Regions from separate parts of the Homo sapiens genome. Here region 2 is linked to region 1. Evidence: promoter capture Hi-C in 16 types of primary human blood cells and fetal thymus (Javierre and others, 2016). All regions are on one chromosome and are shown on one strand. The core of a region is centred on a gene start or on the middle of the fragment in contact, and the rest is flanking DNA. Distances in the headings are between cores, read along the strand shown.

Region 1 (7,393 bases), core at 2,416-4,915:
TACCACTTTGGAAACCTCTTTGGCTGTATCTACCAAAGATAAAGATACATGCACCTTATGACCCAGCCATCTTATACTTCTAGTTTACATCCAAGAGAAATGTGTATATATGTTTAACAAAATATGTACTAGAATGTTGATCACAGCACTATTTGCAAAAGCCGAAAAAAAAGGAAGTAACTCAAAATTCCATTGACAATTGGTTTTGATAGATAAACCAACTGATAAATAAATTGATAAATAAACCACTGATGGCTGGGCACGGTGGCTCACGCCTGTAATCCCAGCACTTTGGGAGGCTGAGGCAGGCGGATCACCTGAGGTCGGGAGTTCGAAATCAGCCTGGCCAACATGGTGAAACCTTATCTCTACTAAAAAATACAAAATTAGCTAGGTGTGGTGGTGCATGCCTGTGATCCCAGCTACTCAGGAGGCTGAGGCAGGAGAATCGCTTGAACCTGGGAGGCGGAGGTTGCAGTGAGCCAAGATCACCCCATTGCACTCCAGCCTGGGCAACAAGAACGAAACTCCGTCTCAAAAGAACAAAACAAAAACAAAAACAAACAAACAAAAAACCACCAGTGATACATAAATTGGGGTGTATTCACACAGTGGAGGGCTGCTTGGCAATGAGAAAGAAAATGGGTTGCAATTATGCGCCCAACTCAGATACATTTCCCAATCATAAAGTTGAGTGAAAGAGTTAAACCTGTATATTTCTATTTACGCCATGTGCAAAAATAGGCAAAATGAAACCACTGTGTGTAGGGAGGTGTACTTAGGTGGGGAAACCAAAGTCAGGTAAAAGTTAAGTGGATTTCTTCATGGGAAGGAAGAAAGCTGTGCTGGAGAGGAAGCAGGAGGGGGCTTGGGGGAAGGCGATAAGATTATTTTTCTTGCACCCGGTTGGTGGTTACACAGTTGTGTTCACTTTGTCATATTTATTCAGTGGGACATTTATGTCTCATTACTTTTCTGCATGTATATCACATTTCATAATTTAAAAGGTTTAAATTGACTGGGCACAGCAGCTCACACCTGTAATCCCGGCACTTTGGGAGGCCGAGGTGGGCAGATCACTTGAGTCTAGGAGTTCGAGACCAGCCTGGCCAACACAGTGAAACCCCGTCTCTACTAAAAATACAAGGCCGGGCGCGGTGGCTCACGCCTGCAGTCCCAGCACTTTGGGAGGCCGAGGCGGGCGGATCACGCCGTCAGAAGATCAAGACCATCCTGGCTAACAAGGTGAAACCCTGTCTCTACTAAAAATACAAAAAATTAGCTGGGTGTGGCGGCACGTGCCTGTAGTCCCAGCTACTTGGGAGGCTGAGGCAGGAGAATGGCTAGAACCCGGGAGGTGGAGTTTGCGGTGAGCCGAGATCACACCACTGCACTCCAGCCTGGGGGACAGAGTAAAGTGACTTAGAAAACTAGGCTTATTAAAACTCTGCCTTACAAACTGGGCAGACTAGATGTCTTGGTAATAATTAGAAGATTATTATCAATAATCTTCTAATTATTATAATGATAATTAGAAGATTATACGGGGGCACTTGCTCTGTGCTAGGCACTGTTCTAAGGGGTTTATTATTTAATCCTTGCAACAACCCTATAAGGTGCTACTATTGTTCCCATTTCACAGATGGGGAAACCGAGGCACCGTGCGGTTAAATCACTTGTCTAAGTTAGTCAGTGCTGAAGATAGATTTATAACCAGGCCATCTAGCCCCAGAGTCGATGCTCCATTCCCCACCGCAAGCTTATACCTGAGCTATAAGCCCTCATCCGCCAGTCAGGGTCCAACCAGAGGCAACTCCAGTGGGCTCTTTTCACCTGGGCTGGTGGTTGGGAATTCAGGAGCTACGTGAACTTGGATAGGGGAAACTTTTTTTACCTCTCCTTTTACTACACTTTAATCTAGCAGTTCTCAAAATGTGGTCTGGGGGCACCTGTGGGTCCGCAAGACCTTTCTCAGGGGCTAGTGAGGTCAAAAGTATTTTCATAATGATATTAAGACGTTTGTCCTTTTCATTCTCCAGAGACTACCTGACCTGTGATAATGTCATCACTCTGATGGCTAATAGAAATATATGCATGTATATTCGTGTGTTTTTAAAACTTCTCGTTTTCAGCCAGGTTCATGCCTGTAGTCCCAGCTACTCGGGAGGCTGAGGCTCGAAAATCGCATGAACCCAGGAGGCAGAGGTTGTAATGAGCCAAGATCGTGTTACTGTGCTCCAGCCTGGGCAACAGAGTGAAACTCTGTCTCAAAACAAAAACAAAACACACACACACACAAAACCAAAAAACAAACACAAAAACAAAACAACAACAACAAAAAAACCCCCCAACACCTTGTATCACAATAGCACTGGTTTCCTTTGTATTTCTGTGTATTTATATTATGCATGTAACGACATGATCCTGAGAAGGGCTTGACCAGCTTGCCATAGGCATCTTTAGCACAAAAAAGCTTAGGAACCTCCCATTCTGGACGAACTAAGAATACGGGGAGGTTATAATTGGGGGCCACAGGAGTGGCAGGTACTCAAGTTTGGTTATGAGAGCTACTTTCATTATATTTTAGGCTGTAATGGAGACTCTGGAAGTGGGAAGAAAAAAAAAAAAACTCAAACAGTGCAAAGGGCTCGTTTTGATTTTCCCACACTCCTAGTGCCAATTTCTGAAATTGGTGTCCACAATCAGTAGAAGCCTATGTGCTCTGAATTTACAAAGCCAAGTGGTGGCGGGTCATTGTATCTGCAGTCAGGAAGGGGAAACGACTGGAAATCCGGGCCCCCCCAGTTCTTCCCTGCTTCTCTTTTTGTGGCAGCCGCTCCTCACGTTCAAACAGATTGCAAAGGTTTACAGGGGAGAACCCTAACTTGTTCCCTAGACGTCAGTTTCTGGAGTTCCTGCATTAATACGATTAAAAAGAACAGCTGATTCTTATCCAGCCCTTACTCTGGGCCGGGCCCTGTTATCGGCATGAAATTTCATGCAGCAACTCGTTTACTCCTCACAACAGCCCACGGGGTATATACGAGCATCACCTCCTTTTTACAGGTGAAAAAACCCAAGGTCCAGCGAGGTTGAATAACTCACCTAGGTCGCACAGCTCAGAAAGCCCACTGCAATTCCGGGATTCTGGTTTTGTTTTGAGGTTGCCCCGGGCTTCTGAGGAGGGGTCAGTGGGCTCAGCATGGAAAGGAAGGAAGCCGGAAGGCTGGAGGAAGATGCAGCGAGGCTGGAAAGGTTGGGGATCCCCCGGTCCTGCACACCTGGGTACCTGGGGATCGGGCAGGGCCAGGATAGGGGCCGGTGTCCGTGCCCTGGGGCTCCCCAGCTGATGAGTGGGCGCCTGAGGGACGAGCGCAGGGTTACCTGCCTGGGCTCTCACCTGGTGGCCGGCTCAGAGGTGGCGCGCCGGAGACGTATCATAACCTTCCTGGGTCCCCCTTCCCGCGCCACGCCCTGGTGGGGTGGGCGGGTGGGTGTGGGGCGCCCAGGCAGGACCGGCCGGACCTGTGGGACCCGGGGCCCTGGCTGTCTAGGGAGGCTGTCACCCCGAGGCGACCGGCTCTTCCGGGGCTGGGACGGCTGTAGGCGGCAAGAGGCCTCGGCACCCGCGAACTCATAAATACCGGGGCGGCGCTGGTGGCGGGAGAGGCGCGTGCGGGCAGCCGGCGCCCCCGAGGGTGAGCCGGGGTCCGGGAGGGCGTCCCCTTTCCCGGATGGTCCCGACCCGGCTCCATCCTGGCAGCTGGAGACGGAGCTGGAGCAGGCGGGAAAGCGCTGGAGAGAAGGGGGGTGGGTACAGATGGGGGAAGGGCAGGGACGCTGGGGATGGGGAGAGAGGATGCGGCCGCTCTGGCCATGATGGGCTCTAAAGGATCTGGGGGTGGTGTGGGAGGATTGGGGTCACTAGGAGCAAAATAGAAGGCTAAGGATGGAGTAGGGAGGCGAGGTCCCGGGGGCAGGCGGGAATGCTTGGAATCTCGGGAGTAGGTAGGAGAACTGGGGTTTCTAACAGCAGGATGGAAAGCTGGGGATGGGGCTGCGGAATGCAACCTCCTACACAGCCTCCACCCCGCTCCCAGACCCCCAGCACTGAGAGTGAGCTCTGGTTAGGAGCAAGGCTCTGGAATCAGGCCCTCCTGGGTTCAAATCCTGGCTCCATCCCATCCTAGCTGTGCAGCTGAATCACTCAGCTGCTCGGTTTCCTCATCTGTGATATGGGGATGACAATGCTCACAGCCACCACTTCATAGCAATGTCGTGAGGCTTCCGTGAATTAATCTATGTCAAGCGGTTGGCACACTGTGAGTGAGGCTCAGAGAGCTCTGCTGCTGTTCCTTAGCGATTCTTATTTTTGGTTTCTCTCTCCAGCACCTGGATAACCACCCATCTTGAAGGAGACCTCCCTGCCCTGCCTCTGTTGTCCCCCAGAGCACTGCCTGATCATCCTCTGTTCCCCATCCTCCCAGCCCTTCCTGCTGTACCTGTGGGGAGCTGATCTCCTCAGTCCCCCTGCTTTTCCCCGGTCTGCCATCACCACCCCACCACCATGCACCCCCTTCCTGGCTACTGGTCCTGTTACTGTCTACTCCTGCTATTCTCCTTGGGAGTCCAGGGGTCCCTGGGGGCTCCCAGCGCTGCCCCAGAGCAAGTCCATCTGTCTTACCCAGGTAAGTGTCCCTGACTCATTTCTATGCCTCTACCAGAGAGGCCCAGCGGTGCTTCGTTGTTTGAGGGCTCAGGAATCCCACACTGTGAGCCCCTAGGCGGGTGGCTCATTCCTCCTGAGCCTCCATCATCCACCTCTGTGGAATAGGAAGTACAGGCTGTGGAACACCTGGAAGTGTGGGGAATGATCATGGTGCTCAGCCCACAGAGAGTGCTCCCCTGCTCTCAAAAGGGGACCGCTGCTGTCCTTGTTCATTGCATCTCTGTTGTGTTTCCGGGACCTGGCACGTTTGTTCGTTCATGCACGGTAGGCCTCAGAGCCAGTTGTGGAAGGAACCAGTGGATGAATGATAACAGAGCTGGGTTACCCAGCCCCTTCTCCATCCCTCTTCTCCTCTTCCCCACGAGGCTGACTGCCTCCCGATCTTTGATTAGGATCCTTCCACTGTGGGAGTAAGAGCTTGGACTCTGGACCATTGGCACCCAGACCACGTGGGTTAGAATCCCAGCTTTGCTATGTACCTGCTGCCTAATCTTGGGCAAGTGGCTTAACCTCTCTGTCCTCAGTCTCCTCATCTGGATAATGGGGTAATATTAGTACAACCTCATGGTGAGGTGTAAATGAGTTGCTACCTGTAAAGGGGCAGAACTGAGGCTGAGTGTGGGGGCTCACACCTGTAGTCTTAGCAGTTTGGGAGGCTGAGGCGGAAGGATCACTTGAGCTCATGAGTTTGGGACCAGCCTAGGAAACATAGTGAGACCTCTGCCTCTTAGGGAAAAAGAAAAAATCTTAGACAGGTGTGGTGGCATGCACCTATAGTCCCAGCTACTTGGGAGACTGAGGTGGGAGGATCGCTTGAGCCCAGGAGTTCAAGGCTGCAGTGAGCCATGATTGGCCACTACACTCCAGCCTGGGCAACAGAGAGAGACCCTGTCTTTAAAAAAAAAAATGTGGAGGAGGCCAGGCACAGTGGTGCATGCCTGTAATCTCAGCAATTTGGGACACTGAGGTGGGTGGATCACTTGACCTCAGGGGTTCAAGACCAGCCTGGGTAACATGGGTGAAACCCGGTCTCTACAAAAAAATTAAAAAATTAGCTGGGCATGGTGGCTCACGCCTGGTCTCAGCTGCTTGGGGAGCTGAGGCAAGAGGATCGCTTGAGCCCAGGAGGCAAAGGTTGCAATGAGCCAAGATCATGCCATTACACTCCAACCTGGCTGACAGAATGAGGCCCTGTCTCAAAAAAAAAAAAGGGGGGGGGGAGGGGGATAGAACGGAGCTTGGCATGTAGCAGCAATTTCCATACACTTTAAATCTCAGGACTGTTTGTTTTAAACTGTTAATCTCAGGACCATTTTACATCACTAAATTTTATGGAGAACTAAAATTTATGGAGAAGTTCAAAGAGCTTTAGTTTATGTGCATTACAGCTAGCAATATTTACTAAATAAGGTATTAAAACTGAGGCATTTAAAATTTTTTATTGTCATTTAAAATTAACAATAACAAACACCTTCAGTATTAATGTATATGATATTTTTAAGGAACAAACTGTATTTTGCAAAAGAAGAAATTGAGTGAGGAAAGTGGCATTGACTTGCATCTTTTAAAAATCTTTTATTTATTTATTTATTTTTGAGACAGGGTCTCGCTCTGTCAACCAGGCTGGAGTGCAGTGGCACAGTCTTGGCTCACTGCAGCCTCTGCCCCGCAGGGTTCAAGTGATTCTCCCACCTCAGCCTCCCGAGTAGCTGGGATTACAGGCACCCACCACCCCATACTTGGCTAATTTTTGTATTTTTTATACAGATGGAATTTCACCATGTTGCCCAGGCTGGTCTTGAATTCCTAAGCTCAAGCGATCCTCCAGTCTCGGCCTCCCAAAGTGCTGGGATTACAGACATGAGCCACCGCGCCCCGCCTAAAATCTCTTTAGTATCTGGTTTGGTAACTGACAACTGGATTCTCCTCAGATCTGTTTTCATTTTAGTCTGTTGTGATTTGTTGTTTTGGATTTTGCCTGTGAAGAAAATCTGTTCTTGCACAGACATGTGGTTGAAACAGGGAGAAAAGTTGCTTGTTTTTTGACACAGGGTTTGGCTCTGTCAGGGTTTGGCACTGGAGTGCAGTAGCACAAACATGGCTCACTGCAACCTCAACTCCGAGACTCAAGCGATCCTCCCACCTCAGTCTCTTGAATAGCTGGGACCACAGGGGCATGACACCATGCCCAGCTAATTTTGTTTTTTTTTTTTTTTTTTTGAGATGGAGCCTCACTCTGTTGGCCAGGCTGTAGTGCAATGGCATGATCTTGGCTCACTGCAAGCTCCACCTCCTGGTTTCAAGCGATTCTCCTGCTTCAGCCTCCCAAGTATCTGGGATTACAGGCATGCACCACCACACCTGGCTAATTTTTGTATTTTTAGTAGAGACGGGGTTTCACCATGTTGGCCAGGCTGGCCTCGAACTCCTGACCTCAAGTGATCCACCCACCTCTGCCTCCCAAAATGCTGGGATTACAGGCGTGAGCCACCGTGCCTGGCTCTAGTCCTACTCTTTTCTATCTGTGCCAGTTCCTCAGTCATTCCTTATCTTTCCTTGTTTTTCATGTCTTTTACATCTTCAAAGAAGATAGTTTCTTCTTTTTTTTTAGATAGGGTCTCACTCTGTCACCCACGCTGGAATGCAATGGCGCAATCATAGCTT
Region 2 (7,393 bases), core at 2,274-4,773, 590 kb after region 1:
TGAAGGACCTCTTCAAGGAGAACTACAAACCACTGCTCAATGAAATAAAAGAGGATACAAACAAATGGAAGAACATTCCATGCTCATGGGTAGGAAGAATCAATATCGTGAAAATGGCCATACTGCCCAAGGTAATTTACAGATTCAATGCCATCCCCATCAAGCTACCAATGACTTTCTTCACAGAATTGGAAAAAACTACTTTCAAGTTCATATGGAACCAAAAGAGAGCCCGCATCGCCAAGTCAATCCTAAGCCAAAAGAATAAAGCTGAAGGCATCATGCTACCTGACTTCAAACTATACTACAAGGCTACAGTAACCAAAACAGCATAATACTGGTACCAAAACAGCATAATACTGGTACCAAAACAGAGATATAGATCAATGGAACAGAACAGAGCCCTCAGAAATAACGCCACATATCTACAACTATCTGATCTTTGACAAACCTGAGAAAAACAAGCAATGGGGAAAGGATTCCCTATTTAATAAATGGTGCTGGGGAAATTGGCTAGCCATATGTAGAAAGCTGAAACTGGATCCCTTCCTTACACCTTAAACAAAAATTAATTCAAGATGGATTAAAGACTTAAACGTTAGACCTAAAACCATAAAAACCCTAGAAGAAAACCTAGGCATTACCATTCAGGACATAGGCATGGGCAAGGACTTCATGTCTAAAACACCAAAAGCAATGGCAACAAAAGCCAAAATTGACAAATGGATCTAATTAAACTAAAGAGCTTCTGCACAGCAAAAGAAACTACCGTCAGAGTGAACAGGCAACCTACAAAATGGGAGAAAATTTTTGCAACCTACTCATCTGACAAAGGGCTAATATCCAGAATCTACAATGAACTCCAACAAATTTACAAGAAAAAAACAAACAACCCCATCAAAAAGTGGGCAAAGGACATGAACAGACACTTCTCAAAAGAAGACATTTATGCAGCCAAAAAACACATGAAAAAATGCTCACCATCACTGGCCATCAGAGAAATGCAAATCAAAACCACAATGAGATACCATCTTATACCAGTTAGAATGGCAATCATTAAAAAGTCAGGAAACAACAGGTGCTGGAGAGGATGTGGAGAAATAGGAACACTTTTACACTGTTGGTGGGACTGTAAACTAGTTCAACCATTGTGGAAGTCAGTGTGGCAATTCCTCAGAGATCTAGAACTAGAAATACCATTTGACCCAACCATCCCATTACTGGGTATATACCCAAAGGACTATAAATCATGCTGCTATAAAGACACATGCACACGTATGTTTATTGTGGCACTATTCACAATAGCAAAGACTTGTAACCAAGCCAAATGTCCAACGTTGATAGACTGGATTAAGAAAATGTGGCACATATACACCATGGAGTACTATGCAGCCATAAAAAATGATGAGTTCATGTCCTTTGTAGGGACATGGATGAAATTGGAAATCATCATTCTCAGTAAACTATCGCAAGAACAAAAAACCAAACACTGCATATTCTCACTCATAGGTGGGAATTGAACAATGAGAACACATGGACACAGGAAGGGGAACATCACACTCTGGGGACTGTTGTGGGGTGGGGGAAGGGGGGAGGGATAGCTTTAGGAGATATACCTAATGCTAAATGATGAGTTAATGGGTGCAGCACACCAGCATGGCACATGTATACATATGTAACTAACCTGCACATTGTGCACATGTACCCTAAAACTTAAAGTATAATAATAATTTTTTAAAAAAGAAAATGACATAAGAAAAAAAAAAAAGAAAAAACAGATAAAGTGCACTTTGTCTGTATTTACAGCCCATAATCAAGAAATCATTGCCCAATCTCATGTCATGATGATATCTGCCTGTCATTATCATTTCTCCTATCATTATCATTGAAGGTCTTACGTTTACTCATTGATACATTTTGAGTTCACTATTGTATATGTTATAAGCTAAGGGACCAGTATGTGTAAGTCCAGTTTTCCCAGCATCACGTGTTGAGAAGTCTGTCCTTTTCCAATGCGATGGTCGTAGCCCATTGTGGACTCTCAGGTGACCCTCTGTGAGTGTTTCTAGGCTCTCTATTCTACTCCTTTGATTTCTATGCCTCTCCTTAAGCCAGCACCACACTGTCATGATATTATAGCTTTTTAAAGAGGTCAAACATTGGCCACAATAAAATATGCACTTCCAAAGCCATTTTTAGGTATTATATATCATGGATTAGGCTCTTTTTTTTTATTCTCAGGACCTACATGGACACTATTTCTCATCCTTGTGATACAGGAGTTATTAAGAAATAATTTTTAGGTAGATAGTAAGGGTAAAAGTTCTTGGTGGAAATTTTCCTGTAATAAGAAACAACCCCCAAACCATCTCTTTTCTAACAGAAAAGGTGGCTTGAAGGGCCAGGAGAGCAAGCTTTGATATGCAAATACTGGGTCATTAGAAACGAGGTTCACTCAATGTGGTGATTCCTGCCATCTTTTCCTTGTCACCAGGTGTACCAAGTGTCATGGCCACTTTCAGATAACACCATGTGTTCGAAACATCATGGCAACCCGCATTTGCATATTAAAGGGCTAAGATGGGAGGGCCAGATTTTTCACAGGCTACAGAAATTACACACCTGGTCAAACCAATCCCCTGGGCCCTATGGAAACCAGAAGCCGCCTCCTCCAGCATCCCAATATAAGCAATCACTTTTCCACCACACATGGTTTTTATGTGTGTGTGTGTGATAGGTTTTTATTTATTATTATACTTTAAGTTCTAGGGTACATGTGCACAACGTGCAGGTTTGTTACATATGTATACATGTGCCATGTTGGTGTGCTGCACCCATTAACTCGTCATTTACATTAGGTATTTCTCTTAATGCTTTCCCTCCCCCCATCATTCTGAGCAAACTATCGCAGGGACAGAAAACCAAACACCGCATGTTCTCACTCGTAGGTGGGAATTGAACAATGAGAACACTTGGACACAGGGTGGGGAGCATGGGGGGTTTTTTGTTCGAATCCCCCTCTCTCTGTCTCTGTACGGGGGAGCTGTTTTCTTCCTTCCTTCTTTCTTGCCTATGAAACTTTTCACCCCTTAAAACCACTCCACATGTGTCCATGTTGTTAATCTTATCAGCACGAGACCAAGGACCCTGGTTCCCTCCAGTCATCGGAGCCATATCTTTTAGGTGCATTGGCCAGGAATGGGAATTCATTCATCAGACTGGTGAGTATGGAGCAAATCTCAACTTTAAATCTGTCTTTTAATCTCTAGGCTCTCTTCCAGCTATCCTGCCACCAAACTTTCTTTCTCTCTCTACCCGCGGTCTCTTACTGTCTCTCTCACTGTGTCTAATGTGCAGGAATCTTTACAGTTCAGGGAAACAGGTCTGTTAGAGAAGATCATGAATCAAGGCAGGCAGTAACTCAATAAACGTCTGTCTCTCTAAGGTTTCGCTGGTGAGCACATGGTATTTCTAAGCCAAAACCGCCACCTGGTGGAAATAAAAATCCTCTTCATGAGACACTTGGTTCTCTGTGGTACGTTGCAGCTTCACAATTTCTCCATTTTGCACTTTTTTACTGCTACTTCTGTGGACGGGAAACTCTGGTTTCAACCATTAGGAGTAAGATGTCTTCCACAGCCAGATTTTAGTCCCAATATTGTCCCATCAGTAGGAAAACTGCCATTCGGTTCCTACACTCTTTTAAGGCACCTATTCTGTCTCCAATTAAGACAGTACTTAATTGGTAAGGGGATATTAAGTTTAGAAGTTAACCAGAACAGTTTTTTTTAAAGGGTAAATGCATTAGCACGGGTCATAATAGCAGGCAATCTAGCACATTGCCTCCATTAAAGGAGCCTTGCCCAGAGGTGACACAGTCTCCCCGGAGATCCGTTTTCAGGGAGCCAGGCAAACTGCACATGTTTAGGAAATCAAAGGTAAATCACACAAGGCAGATAAGCTAAGACTGCATGGGTAAGCACGGGTAGCCCCATCACTTAGTTCATCCAGCTCTATGGCTTGGAGGACCACACCTACAGCCATGGGTGGCACATTTAACATGGTGCCGGGATCCAGAAACCAGGGAGGGGAAGTAATCAGAGGATGCTCCCTGTCTGCTCCTCCACTCTGGGTCATACCAAAAGGAAGGAGACTAAGAAGATGCTTTGTATTCTTTCTTCTTTTTCTAAATGGATAATAAATTATCTTTAGGTTGCACCCCTCTGGAGTGCACTCTGAAACACTGAAACTTCCTTAATCTCAAAACTGTAAAGAGAAAAGCAATTTATTTTCTTTTGCACAAGGACATGGCATTTTTACTAAATGGGAGGGAAGCGGTTCTCATAAACAACCCTAACTAAAACTTCAATAGCTCAGGAAATGATAGGAAAAGGAAGTACTTTTTAATACTCACTATAAAAGGCCTAGAGGAAACCAGGGCCAAACCTCTCAGTTACTCTAAGCTGTCTATAATGAACCAAAAGCCAGATAATAATTCTGTAGCCTTTATGGAAAGGCCAAGAGAGGCACTAATAGAGTACATCTCCTTATCCCCTAATTCAATGGAGGAACAGCTCATTTTGAAGGAGAAGTTTATTACAAAAGCAGCTCCTGATATTAAAACTAAAAAAGCAAGCTTAGGACAAAATACCACCTTAGAGAACCTCCTGCAAGTGGCGACTTTGGTCTTTTATAATAGGGACAAGGAGGAGTCCCAACAAAAGCGGGGGAATCTCAAGAGAAGGACAGAGGCTCCAGCAGCAGCTTTGCAAGCTTGTAAAGTCCAGAATCCCCAAGGTACATCCACTAGTTGCTATTGGCATGGCAGCCCAGAGCATTTTTAAAAGGAATGCCCAGGCAGCAAGATGAAGCAAACTCAACCCTATCCAGGCTGTGGCAAAAACCACTGGAAACAGAACTACCCCCAGAGGCAGAGGTCACTGGGTTCAAAATCAGCCTCACAGATGGTCCAGCAGGAATGATGGGTCCAAGGGCTCCAACATTGGCTCCAGTGACTCAAACTGCCATAGAGCACAGGAGTCCTAGAGGATTCTGGAAATTTACAAAAGGAAAGTAAACCTCCTTCTAAGCACTAGAGCCAGTCTCTCTCTTTTCTCCTCTCTAATCCAGGCCTCCGCTCTTCTCATAGCACAACTGTAAAGGGCATCTCGGGAAAAACTCTAATCCAATATTTTTTTCAACCTTAGCTGTAGTTAGAAAGACCTATTTACACGTGCTTCCAAGTCATTGTCATAATAGCTCTACTAGTCAAAAAAGCCTCCAAGTTAACCCTAGGAAATAATTCAACTGTTTACAGCCCACATAATGTGGCAGGATCACTGACCTCTAAGGGGAGCTCTTAGCTAGTAAACAGCCAGTAAAGCAAGAAGTACATAAGGCAGGATGAGCAGTAGTCACTGCCCCAAACACAAGCACTCAATTAGCTGAGCTAATAGCTCTTACAAGAGCACTTAAATTAAGCCAGAGAAAGATAGCTAACATTTCTACTAACTCCAAGTATGCTTTCCTAATTGTCCATGCTCATGCTGCTATTTAAAAGGAAAGGCATTTTCTTACCACTAATGAATCTCCCATAAAATATCACCAGGAAATTAATAGGTTATTATCCTCAGTTTTTCTTCCACAAGAAATAGCAGGATGCATTGTAGGGAACATCAAAAGAAAATAAATAAGGTAAGCAAAGGAAATAAATTAACTGGTCAGCCAGCTAAGACAGAGGCAAGGAAGTCTCAGGGCATTAACACAACTAGTGAAAGCCCAAGTCCAGGAACTAAAACCATCTTTATTTAATCCAGGAAATTTAGTATTAGTGAAAAATCTCATCTCTCTCCTTCCCTAAGCCAAGCTGGGAAGGGCCCTCCACTGTTCTTCTTTCAACCCTCTCAGTAGTAAAATTTACAGGAATCAACTCCTGAATACATCACACTAAAGTCAAAGCTTAAAAAGCTGGGGGAGCAACCCCTAACAGTCCAGAGAAACATCCAGAATGTCCATGTGGAAAAGCAGAAAATGTTAAGCTAAAAATCACAAAAATTAAGTAACTGAGTAAGGTCTACCCATCTTACTCAGTCCCACATTTACCTCAACATATACTTGTTGTCATTTCTGCCCTTTCCTGTCAAAATTTGCCACCAAATATTAAAACTTCTTTTTAATGTATAATTGCAGAAAATTTTAATGATAAATGAAATTGCACTTGGAACTCCGTAAATCCCCAAAGGGAAATGTTATATCTTGACAAGTAAAGTTTTAAACAAATGTTTTTTACTATCCCACTCTTGTGGGAATTGTTATAGTTATGCTACTATTTGTGATAAAACTATACACTGTGGCACCCACAATGTGGAATTCTGGTTGTAAAATTCTAATTCGTGCTCCTATGAGAATCTAATGCTGGGGCTTATCTGACAGGAGGCCACTCACGCAGTAATGCTTACCCACTGCTCACCTCCTGCTTTGTGGCTTCTTTCCTAACAGGCCACGGATTGTTACTGCTCTATGGCTTGAGGGTTGGGGACCCCTGCTCTAGGGTGTATCTCTTTCAGGGTTCCAACTAAAAGCCTAACTCTCTCTCCCACTTGGCAGACAACAACCTATAATTTTTGTATCTTCAGATCCACAAGACTGATAGAAGTTCTACTCTGCCACCACCTAAGAATCAACTTCTAATTTATGATACTATTTTAATTTCCCCAATTGTACAAAAGCATGTCCTTTATAGCTGTTTTAAAATCCATTATCCAATCAGGTTTCATGCACTTTGGTGCTATACTTCTTTGGTCTCTTTTAATCTAGAACATTCTCCCTGCCTTGTTATGACATTTTTTGATGCTTTTTGAATTTTTGTCATATATAAGGCTCCAAAAATGAAAATGAGCTTGGTGGTATGAGGAATTGAAAAGAGGTCAGTATATCAGGCATTTCTTGCACCACGTGTTATCCTCTCAGCCCCACCTCTTCATCCAGCCATTGCTAAGGTGACCAGGTCCAGACAGTTGTTCACTAGCTTCATGCAGGTACACACTGACAGTGCCTCTCCTTAGTATCTATCTTTCCAGTACCTTCCTCTTTCCAGCACTGGGCTTCTTTGAGATGGTAGAATAGGACTTTTGCAGAAATCCTCTCAGCACCCATGCATTTGCAAACCAAAGTTGTGGGAGACTTAATGCCAACAGGATGACTTTTTAACAACTGGGGATGGGGGCAGATGGATAAATACTTCCTTTCATCTTCTGGGCAGAGAGTACTAAGAAACATTTCTTATTTGGTCGGGGTGAGGGTGAAAACCAAGCTTATGCCAGAAAAAGTCATAGAAAGCAGCTGGACCCTCATACTGGGAACCTAAATCTCTTATTGGGCAGATCACTGTAAA

What was found. Contacts are between HindIII fragments. The CHiCAGO score rates a contact against its expected background, and 5 or more counts as called.
Region 2: a fragment that was not itself captured here is called in contact with the fragment with the promoter of ACP7 in region 1 in 1 of 17 cell types (total B cells); the score reaches 8.7 in total B cells.

Annotation. Positions count from the first base shown.
Region 1 is chr19:39,080,703-39,088,095 of GRCh38, forward strand. ACP7 (acid phosphatase 7, tartrate resistant (putative)) reads left to right here and starts at 3,666. Exons shown (of 13, transcript NM_001004318.3): 1 at 3,666-3,698; 2 at 4,390-4,688. The coding sequence starts at 4,568. RefSeq lists an enhancer at 3,519-4,019. The HindIII fragment of the contact is 23,028 bases long and covers 2,472-7,393 here.
Region 2 is chr19:39,668,687-39,676,079 of GRCh38, forward strand. No RefSeq gene overlaps it. Among named protein-coding and RNA genes, the nearest start is that of LGALS16, 16 kb to the left of the region's middle. The HindIII fragment of the contact is 2,222 bases long and covers 2,413-4,634 here.